Regions from separate parts of the Homo sapiens genome. Here region 1 is linked to region 2. Evidence: promoter capture Hi-C in human tissues and cell types (Jung and others, 2019). All regions are on one chromosome and are shown on one strand. Each heading gives the region's core, a stretch centred on a gene start or on the middle of the fragment in contact. The rest is flanking DNA. Distances are from core to core; before and after follow the strand shown.

What was found. The method cuts DNA at HindIII sites, captures the fragments that hold promoters and counts their contacts. A contact is called where the count stands out against the background at its distance.
Region 1: a fragment that was not itself captured here is called in contact with the fragment with the promoter of FAM118A in region 2 in 1 of the 25 tissues and cell types used here (aorta).

Annotation. Positions count from the first base shown.
Region 1 is chr22:45,438,751-45,442,591 of GRCh38, forward strand. No RefSeq gene overlaps it. Among named protein-coding and RNA genes, the nearest start is that of RIBC2, 27 kb to the left of the region's middle. RefSeq lists an enhancer at 3,601-3,841. The HindIII fragment of the contact is 9,206 bases long and covers 1-3,841 here.
Region 2 is chr22:45,307,272-45,311,452 of GRCh38, forward strand. FAM118A (family with sequence similarity 118 member A) reads left to right here and starts at 2,663. Exons shown (of 9, transcript NM_017911.4): 1 at 2,663-2,912. RefSeq lists a silencer at 2,329-3,008 and an enhancer at 3,725-4,181. The HindIII fragment of the contact is 15,582 bases long and covers 1-4,181 here.

The DNA.
Region 1 (3,841 bases), core at 388-2,887, 130 kb after region 2:
GATAAACAGGAAGAAAAATAGAGTCATTTGCACATGGTTCTTTATTCTGTGTTCAAGTTCTTATGTTTAGAATAATGGGAAGGGGGCCAGGCACGGTGGCTCATGCCTGTAATCCCAGCACTTTGGGAGGTCGAAGTGGGAAGATGACCTGAGGTCAGGAGTTTGAGACCAGCCTGGCCAACATGGTGAAACCCTGTCTCTACTAAAAATACAAACTAGCCAGGCATGATGGTGCGCACCTGTAATCCCAGCTACTCAGGAGGCTGAGGCAGGAGAATCTCTTGAGCCCGGGAAGCGGAGGTTGCAGTGAGCTGAGGTCACACCACTGTACTCCAACCTGGGCAACACAGCAAGACTCTGTCTACAAAAATAAAAATAAGGCCAGGTGCTGTGGCTCGCGCCTGTAATCCCAGCACTTTGGGAGGCCAAGGTGGGCAGATCACGAGGTCAGGAGATTGAGACCATCCTGGCTAACACGGTGAAACCCCATCTCTACTACAAATACAAAAAAATTAGCCGGGCATGGTGTCGGGTGCCTATTGTCCCAGCTACTCAGGGGGCTAAGGCAGGAGAATGGCATGAACCTGGGAGGTGGAGATTGCAGTGAGCCGAAATCATGCCACTGCACTCCAGCCTGGGCAACAGAGTGAGACTCCATCTCAAAAAATAAAAAATAAAAATAAATAAATAACATAAAAATAAGGCCAGGTGCGGTAGCTCACGCCTGTAATCCCAGCACTTTGGGACACCGAAGCAGGTGGATCACGAGGTCAGGAGTTCAGGACCAGCCTGGTCAACATAGCGAGACCTCGTCTCTACAAAAAATTTAAAAAATTTTAGGCCGGGTACAGTGGCTCATGCCTGTAATCTCAGAACTTTGGGAGGCTGAGGCAGGTGGATTACCTGAGGTCAGGAGTTTGAGACCAGCCTGGCCAACATGGTGAAACCCTGACTCTACTAAAAATACAAAAATTAGCCAGGTGTGGAGGTGCACACCTGTAGTCCTAGCTACTCAGGAGGCAGAGGCATGAGAATCACTTGAACCAGGGAGGTGGATGTTGCAGTGAGCTGAGATCATGCCACTTCATTCCAGCCTCGGGTACAGAGTGAGACTCTGTCTCAAAAAAACAAGCAAAAAATCACAAAAAGACCTTTACAGAAATGTTTATAGCATCTTTATTCATGATAGCACCAAACTTGGATCAACCAAAATATCTATCAACAGGTGATCAGATAAACAAAAGTTATATTCCTATCACTCACAGCTGAAAAGAAACAAACTGCTGATATACCCGTCAAAACGGCAGAATCAGAAATCATAATCAGGGCGGGGCGCAGTGGCTCAGGCCTGTAATCCCAGCACTTTGGGAGGCCAAGGGGGCAGATCACGAGGTCAGGAGATCAAGACCAACCTGGCTAACATGGTGAAACCCCATCGCTACTAAAAACACAAAAAATTAGCCGGGCGTGGTGGCATGTGCCTGTACTCCCAGCTACTCAGGAGGCTGAGGCATGAGAATTGCTTGAACCCGGGAGGTGGACGTTGCAGTGAGCCAAGATTACGCCACTGCGCTACAGCCTGGGCAACAGAGCAAGACTCCATCTCAAAAAAATAAATAAATGAAATAAAAAATAAAAATAAAAAATTAGCTGGGCATGGTGGTGAGGGGTGGGGTGGGGGGTGTTCCTGTAATACCAGCTACTTGGGAGGCTGAGGCAGGAGAATTGCTTGAACCCGGGAGGCAGAGGTTACAGTGAGCCAAGATCGCACCACTGCCCTCCAGCCTGGGTGACAAGAGCGAAATTCTGTCTCAAAAAAAAAAATCATAATCAGAAACATTGTAACAGATACAAAGGAGTTCACAGTTTACAATTCTATCTATGGGGAGTTCCAGAATTGGGATAACTATTCCATCAGTGCTTGCCTGGGACAGGGTGAGGGGGTTTGATGGCAAACAGGCATGAGGCTACTTTTTGGAGTGATGGAAACGGACAGAAAAAGAAAACCCAACCACACTCCTACCCCTGACAGGACTGCAAAGGGAGGACCCCTAAGAAACCGGGTACCATCTGTTATGCATGCAGCAGGACGAGCCGCAGACAAAACTCCTCAGACACTGAGTTAAAGAAGGAAGTGGTTCTTTCGGCCGGGAGCATCAGGTAAGACTCCTGTCTCAAGAGCCGAGCTCCCCCAGTGAGCAATTCCTGTCCCTTTTAAGGGCTCACAACTCTAAGGGGGTCCGCGCGAGAGGGTCGTGATCGATTGAGCAAGCAGGGGGTACATGACTGGGGGCTGCATGCACCGGTAATCAGAAGGAAACAGAACAGGACAGGGATTTTTGCAATGCCTTTCCATACAAAGTCTGGAATCTATAGATAACATAACCGGTTAGGTCAGGGTCGATCTTTAACTACCAGGATTAGGTCAGGCAGGCCCAGGCCTGGTTTCGGGTCTGGTTCCTAGGCGCCGGGCTACCTGCATTTCGTTTCGCTTTTCTTTCCTTTTCTGAGTATAAAACAAGATAAAACAATATGAGAGAGTCTGTCTCTCTTCTCTCATGTGCAGTGAGCTGTTGCTGTCTACTGGAGAGCTGTCCACCAGCAGGTGGCACATCTATCTCTCGTGCTCCCAGCATAGCCTCTGGCCATCTGGTTTCCACCTGCACCGGGTCTCCCTCTGCAGAAGCGACAGCCACTTTGGAATGTTGGTGCAATGAGGTGACAGGTCCCCATGCTCCTGGGTGGAGCAGCGTCCTGAGCCTGGTTACAGGAGGGATCATGGGGTGAAGGTTGGGGATGGAGCAGGGGCCTCTAGAGCACCTTTTCCAAAGAGACATGTTTCCTTTTCTTTTCTTTTCTTTTCTTTTTTTTTTTTTTTTTTGGGACAGAGTCTTGCTCTGTCACCACCCAGGCTGGAGTGCAGTGGTGCGATCTCGGCTCACTGCAACCTCCGCCTCCCGGGTTCAAGCGATTCTCCTGCCTCTGCCTCAGCCTCCCAAGTAGCTGGGACTACAGGCGCATACCACCACACCCAGCTAATTTTTTGTATTTTTAGTAGAGACGGGGTTTCACCGCGTTAGCCACAATGGTCTTGATCTCCTGACCTCGTGATCCACCTGACTCGGCCTCCCAAAGTGCTGGGATTACAGGCATGAGCCACCGCGCCCAGCAAGAGGCATCTTTTCAACCATATGGATTGTGCCCACGTGATGTTAAGAGAGTGGTGAAAAGAAGCTGGAGGATGCCGAGTGAGAATGAGGCTGTGAGTGACACAGAGTAGGTAGTTGCCAGGTGGGGCTTCATCTGTGCTTGCCCCGACCAAGTAAAGGCCTTGATCCTCCCCCACCCACCACCTCATCCAGCCCACCCCCAGATTCATGCTCCCCCATCTTCGAACCTCACTTGCTCTCTGCCCAGACCTGGCAAAGTCAGTTTCATCTACTGAGTCTGGAAGGTCTGCCTTCCTTTCTTCTTCCAGCGAATGAAAGATGAATCCAAAGTCCCTGGGGCCAACCCCCAGCATGGCCCCCAGAAGTAAACAGGAATGGGAATGAGGGCAGATGGAATGTCTGCGAGTCAGTGGGTCTTTTCTTTTCACCAGACGTTCCAGAAAGCTCTCCAAACACACTTGTTCTAACAGTGTCAGAAAAGACTCCAGCCTCATTGTCCACAATTGTTGGGGATAGAACATTCCAGAGCCTATTGAAGAAAAAAGTGGGTAGGGCCATCTCCTCCACACCAGGCTGATCTGTGAATTAATCGCCCCTGAAGGTTTTCCCCGGGGCTCTGGAGCTGACAAATGTGACTTTGTTACCTGGATATCCCTTGGAACCTGGCAGAG
Region 2 (4,181 bases), core at 1,413-3,912:
AATTCACAGTAGTGTATATGCCCACACACAGGTATGTACATTCCAAATGCACCAACGCCCCTCAAGATACCCTCAATACACAAATAGATTGAGTCTGGGCTGGATGCGGTGGCTCATGCCTGTAATCCCAGCACTTTGGGAGGCTGAGGTGGGAGGATCACTTGAGCCCAGGAGTTCAAGACCAGCCTGGACTGGTGGAGACATGGTGAGACTCTGTCTCCATGAAAAATAATTAAAAATTTAAAAAATATATTTTAATTTGAAAACTTTTAAAAAGGAAAGATATGGACTAGGTCTGGTCGCTGGGCTCCTGACGACAAGGCTTGCTGTGCACATACATCTTCATTAGTGTGAGCTGTGCTCACGTCGGCTGCGTGGAGGCTGGGACAGACACGGACACCCCACAGTGCCCAGTGATGTGTCACACCCACACATCAGCACCACGCTGACCTCTTGCCAACCTGCCATATCTGCCCCCTTATCTACTCAGAATGGTCAAGGTGCCCAGGGGGCAGTGTCTCTCAGTAATTTTCCACAACCTGAGAAAAAGCTGTGTTTCTCTCAGATGTGGGGAAAAGGGGAGCCCTTGTTCCTGAGGCATCCTTCCTGCTGTCCTTGCTCTTGTAAGGCTGACTGGCTGAGTTTTTGGGTGGAGGGGCTGAGGCTCCCAGCCTATCTCAGATGGTGCTGAATGTGGCTGGAGGTTACGATTGCTTTGGTCCCACCACCCCTCAGAGGATGCCCTGCGCAGAGTCTTGGGTCTGACTGACCTCGGCAGCACCCAGCCCATAAGGTCCTGTTAATCAAAATCCTTGCTGGGGCCTGGGAGCTCCATGAGGGAAGGGGCCACATCTCCCACAGGTCTCGGGCTTCAGCACCCAGTACAGGAGCAGGTGTTCATGAACTGAATTATATATCTTTTGCATTAAAAAAAATTTTTTTTGAGACAGAGTCTCGCTCTGTTGCCCGGGCTGGAGTGAAGTGGCATGATCTCAGCTCACTGCTGCCTCTGCCACCCGGGTTCAAGTGATTCTCCTGCCTCAGCCTCCCGAGTAGCTGGGATTACAGGTGTCCGCCACCACGCCCGGCTAATTTTTGTATTTTCAGTAGAGATGAGGTTTTGCCAGGTTGCCCAGGCTGGTCTGGAACTGCTGACTTCAGGTGATCCACCTGCCTCAGCCTCCCAAAGTGCTGAGATTACAGGCGTGAGCCACCGGCCTTTTTTTGCATTTAAGTCGCACCTCCAGGGGTTGGGGAGCTGTATGCAGTGGTGGTTACATGTGTGGGCTGAGGCATGGAACTACACAACCTCTTGGGCCTGAGCTTCCCCTTGTTAAACTGGAATAACAATGAAGACGCCTTCCTCATAGGGTTGTTCCAAGAACACCATGAAGGAACGCATGCAAAGTGCTCAGGGAGTGCCTGACCCCACATACAGAGCACCCAGGGGCTGCCCTCTTCATCCCAGAGTCACTGCTCCCACTGTTTTCTGGGCTCTGGCCCCCCCTAAAATTTCACAGGCCGCTAACACAACACTACCTTCTGTCACAAAATGAGAGCTTTCTGGTGGGCTAGGGTAGGGGGAGATATTAACAGCCAACTTTAAAATCAGGCAGGAAAAAAAGGTGCCAAGGAGACAGGAAGTAATAAATGACTCCAGGTTGGGCAGGGCAGGCTGGGAAGAGGAAGTGGATTGGGTCTTGTTTAGGTAAAAGACTTCAGTGGCAGACAAAGGAGGAGTAATAAGATCGCTAGGGGGCCCGTGCCCAGCCCACCCACGCACAATCTCAGTCCTCGCAATACCCACAAGGTAGGTGCTAGGATCACACCCTTTACGGACGCGGCACCTGCGACAGGGATGCGCGAGGAGTCAGGGGGCCTCGCCGGATCGAACCTAAGCTGGGGAAGAGTATTTCTTGTATTTTTAGGAGAAATTCTCAGCCTCGGGGAAGAGTATTTCTTGATGAGGGAAGAGCGCGGGGAAGACACTCACGCACGCACAAACATGTGGGCGGCCATGGTGTGCCCAGCGCCGTGCTGGCTTCTGGGAACCCCCAGTGGACAAGACGGACAAGGTACCGGCTCTCAGGGGAAGTGGGAGCCAGTCACAAGCGTACCTAATTTCGGAGAGTGACAAGTACTCTGAAAAAGAAAGAAGGTAGGGCTGGTGACTGGCCAATTTAAGCGGGCAGGAGTCTGCTGGGGGACGGAGACCAGCCTCAGGTCTGGGTTGGGGACAGAAGCTGTGCCTAAGTGTGGTGCAGGATGCAGTTGCAAAGGAGCGCTTCCGATCGCACTTGATGCTCGCCACGTCCCTGCAAAGTGCTCCCGCCCCCTTTCTGCAAATGAGGAAACGGGACGCGCGGCTCGCCGGGCCAGGTAGGGCTAGGACGCGGACTCTAGGCCCAAGCGCTCCCCAGCGCAAGCCCTCCCCCGCACATCCGACCGCGCCTGCGCTGGAGACCCCGGGGGCGTGGCCTCCCCGGTGGGCGGGACCGTGGTCACCGAGGTGGGCGGTGCCAGAGGATCTGGCGGCGGGGCGGGGCGGGGCGCGCGTCCTGGCTTCGCCCTTCCCCGGGGCGGGGCCTCCGGGGACCGCGGGGCCGTTGGTTTCGGGACGGAACGTTCACGCGGCTGGGGCGGGCGCGCGGGGGAAGGGTTTGCGGCGGCGCCGCTGCCGGCTAACGCGGAGGGGCGCCTGGAGGCGGCGTGGCGTCCGCTCTGGCTCCGACTCCGGCTCTCGCTCTCGCTTCTAGCCCGCGTGCCTGCGCAGTCCCCTCCCCGAGAACCATCCCCTTGCCCCGCCCAGCGTCAGGGGTGCGCGGCCGCCGAGAGACCCCGGAGGCGTAGCCGGCTGCGGAGGCGAAGAGGTGGCAGCGCGAGCTGGGACCAGCGTCTCGGAGGCGCCGCAGGTGAGGGGGCGGGGCGGGCCCGCGGTCCCTGCATCCGGAGCCCCTGGGGACCCCGAGATCCTCAGGATCCGCCCCGGCCCCGGGGCCACCCCAGGACTCCCTCTCAGCTCTTCCCCTGGAGCCCCTGCCCCCGAGACCCCCTCAGGATCCGCCCTGCCCCTCCAGGCCCGCGAACCCCGAAACTCCAAGATTTTCTCTGGACTCCGAGACCCCCTGAGGACCCCGGCCGCTAGTGGGCCCTGAGAACTGTTGGTTCCGGAAACTCTCGAGGTTCCCTTGGGACTTGCTTCCAGCAACCTCCTCAGAAGCCCCCAGGCCCGGGGCATCTTCCTGTGGGGAGCCGTGGTTCCCAGTGTCCTTAGCCCCGCGAGACCCCGGGTCCCCGTGCCGCCCACCCTGAGGCTCCCTCTCCGACCTGATCTCAGGGCTAGGTTTCTCCAACTTGAGGTCCCTGGACCTGCGGGGCGTGGGTGGAAGTGTTCCCAGGTCTGGTGATAACTTAAGACGGTAACAGCGCGCCCGACGACCACCTCCTAAGCTGTGGTCCCCGCGCCTGCAGGTGCAGGGCCGGGTTTAAGTTTTAATGTTCTGCTGAGACTCAGGTGGCCCCACAGGACAGTCTATAGAGCAGGAGACCTGAGGTGGCCGAGGGCGGCCGAACCGGGGAGGGAGCGAGTTAGGGCACATGGGGACGCTTTTAGGTTGTCTCCTCCTTAATTTTTTCATTCAAGGAACTAACATTTTGTTTTTGAATGCCTGATAGGCTCCAGGAATTGACACTGGAAATAGAGATGAGACGGTCCCTGCTGTCAGGGCCTAGGGACCTGGGGCATAAGACAAGTAGGTCGTTTTTATCTGGAGGAAGCTGTGTCGTCGCTGGCAGGGAACCCATCTGGGTGGGCATGGGATTCTGGGAAGGGGTGGGTGTTAAGGAGGGCGTCTTAGGAGTCGTGGGGAGGAGATGCTAAGCAGCAGGTGAGCTGATTCTTGAAGGTTGAGCTAGAGGAGAAGTTTGCCAGGGTCATTCCAGGCAGAGTTTCAGGGGACAGCCAGTATGTCAAAAGGCAGAGAGGCTGCCACGGCACACAGTGTTGGAAGGCGGGAGGTGTGGCTGGAGCACACCTAATGAAGGTGGCGTGGGAGTGAATGCTAACTGCGGAGAACCCAGCTTTGCTCCCGGAGGCCCACCGTGCCCTTGGCCCTTTCTTGAACGACTGCACCTGCCATTGTCCTGAGAAATGATCCAGCTGAGCTGAAGGAAGGTGGGAG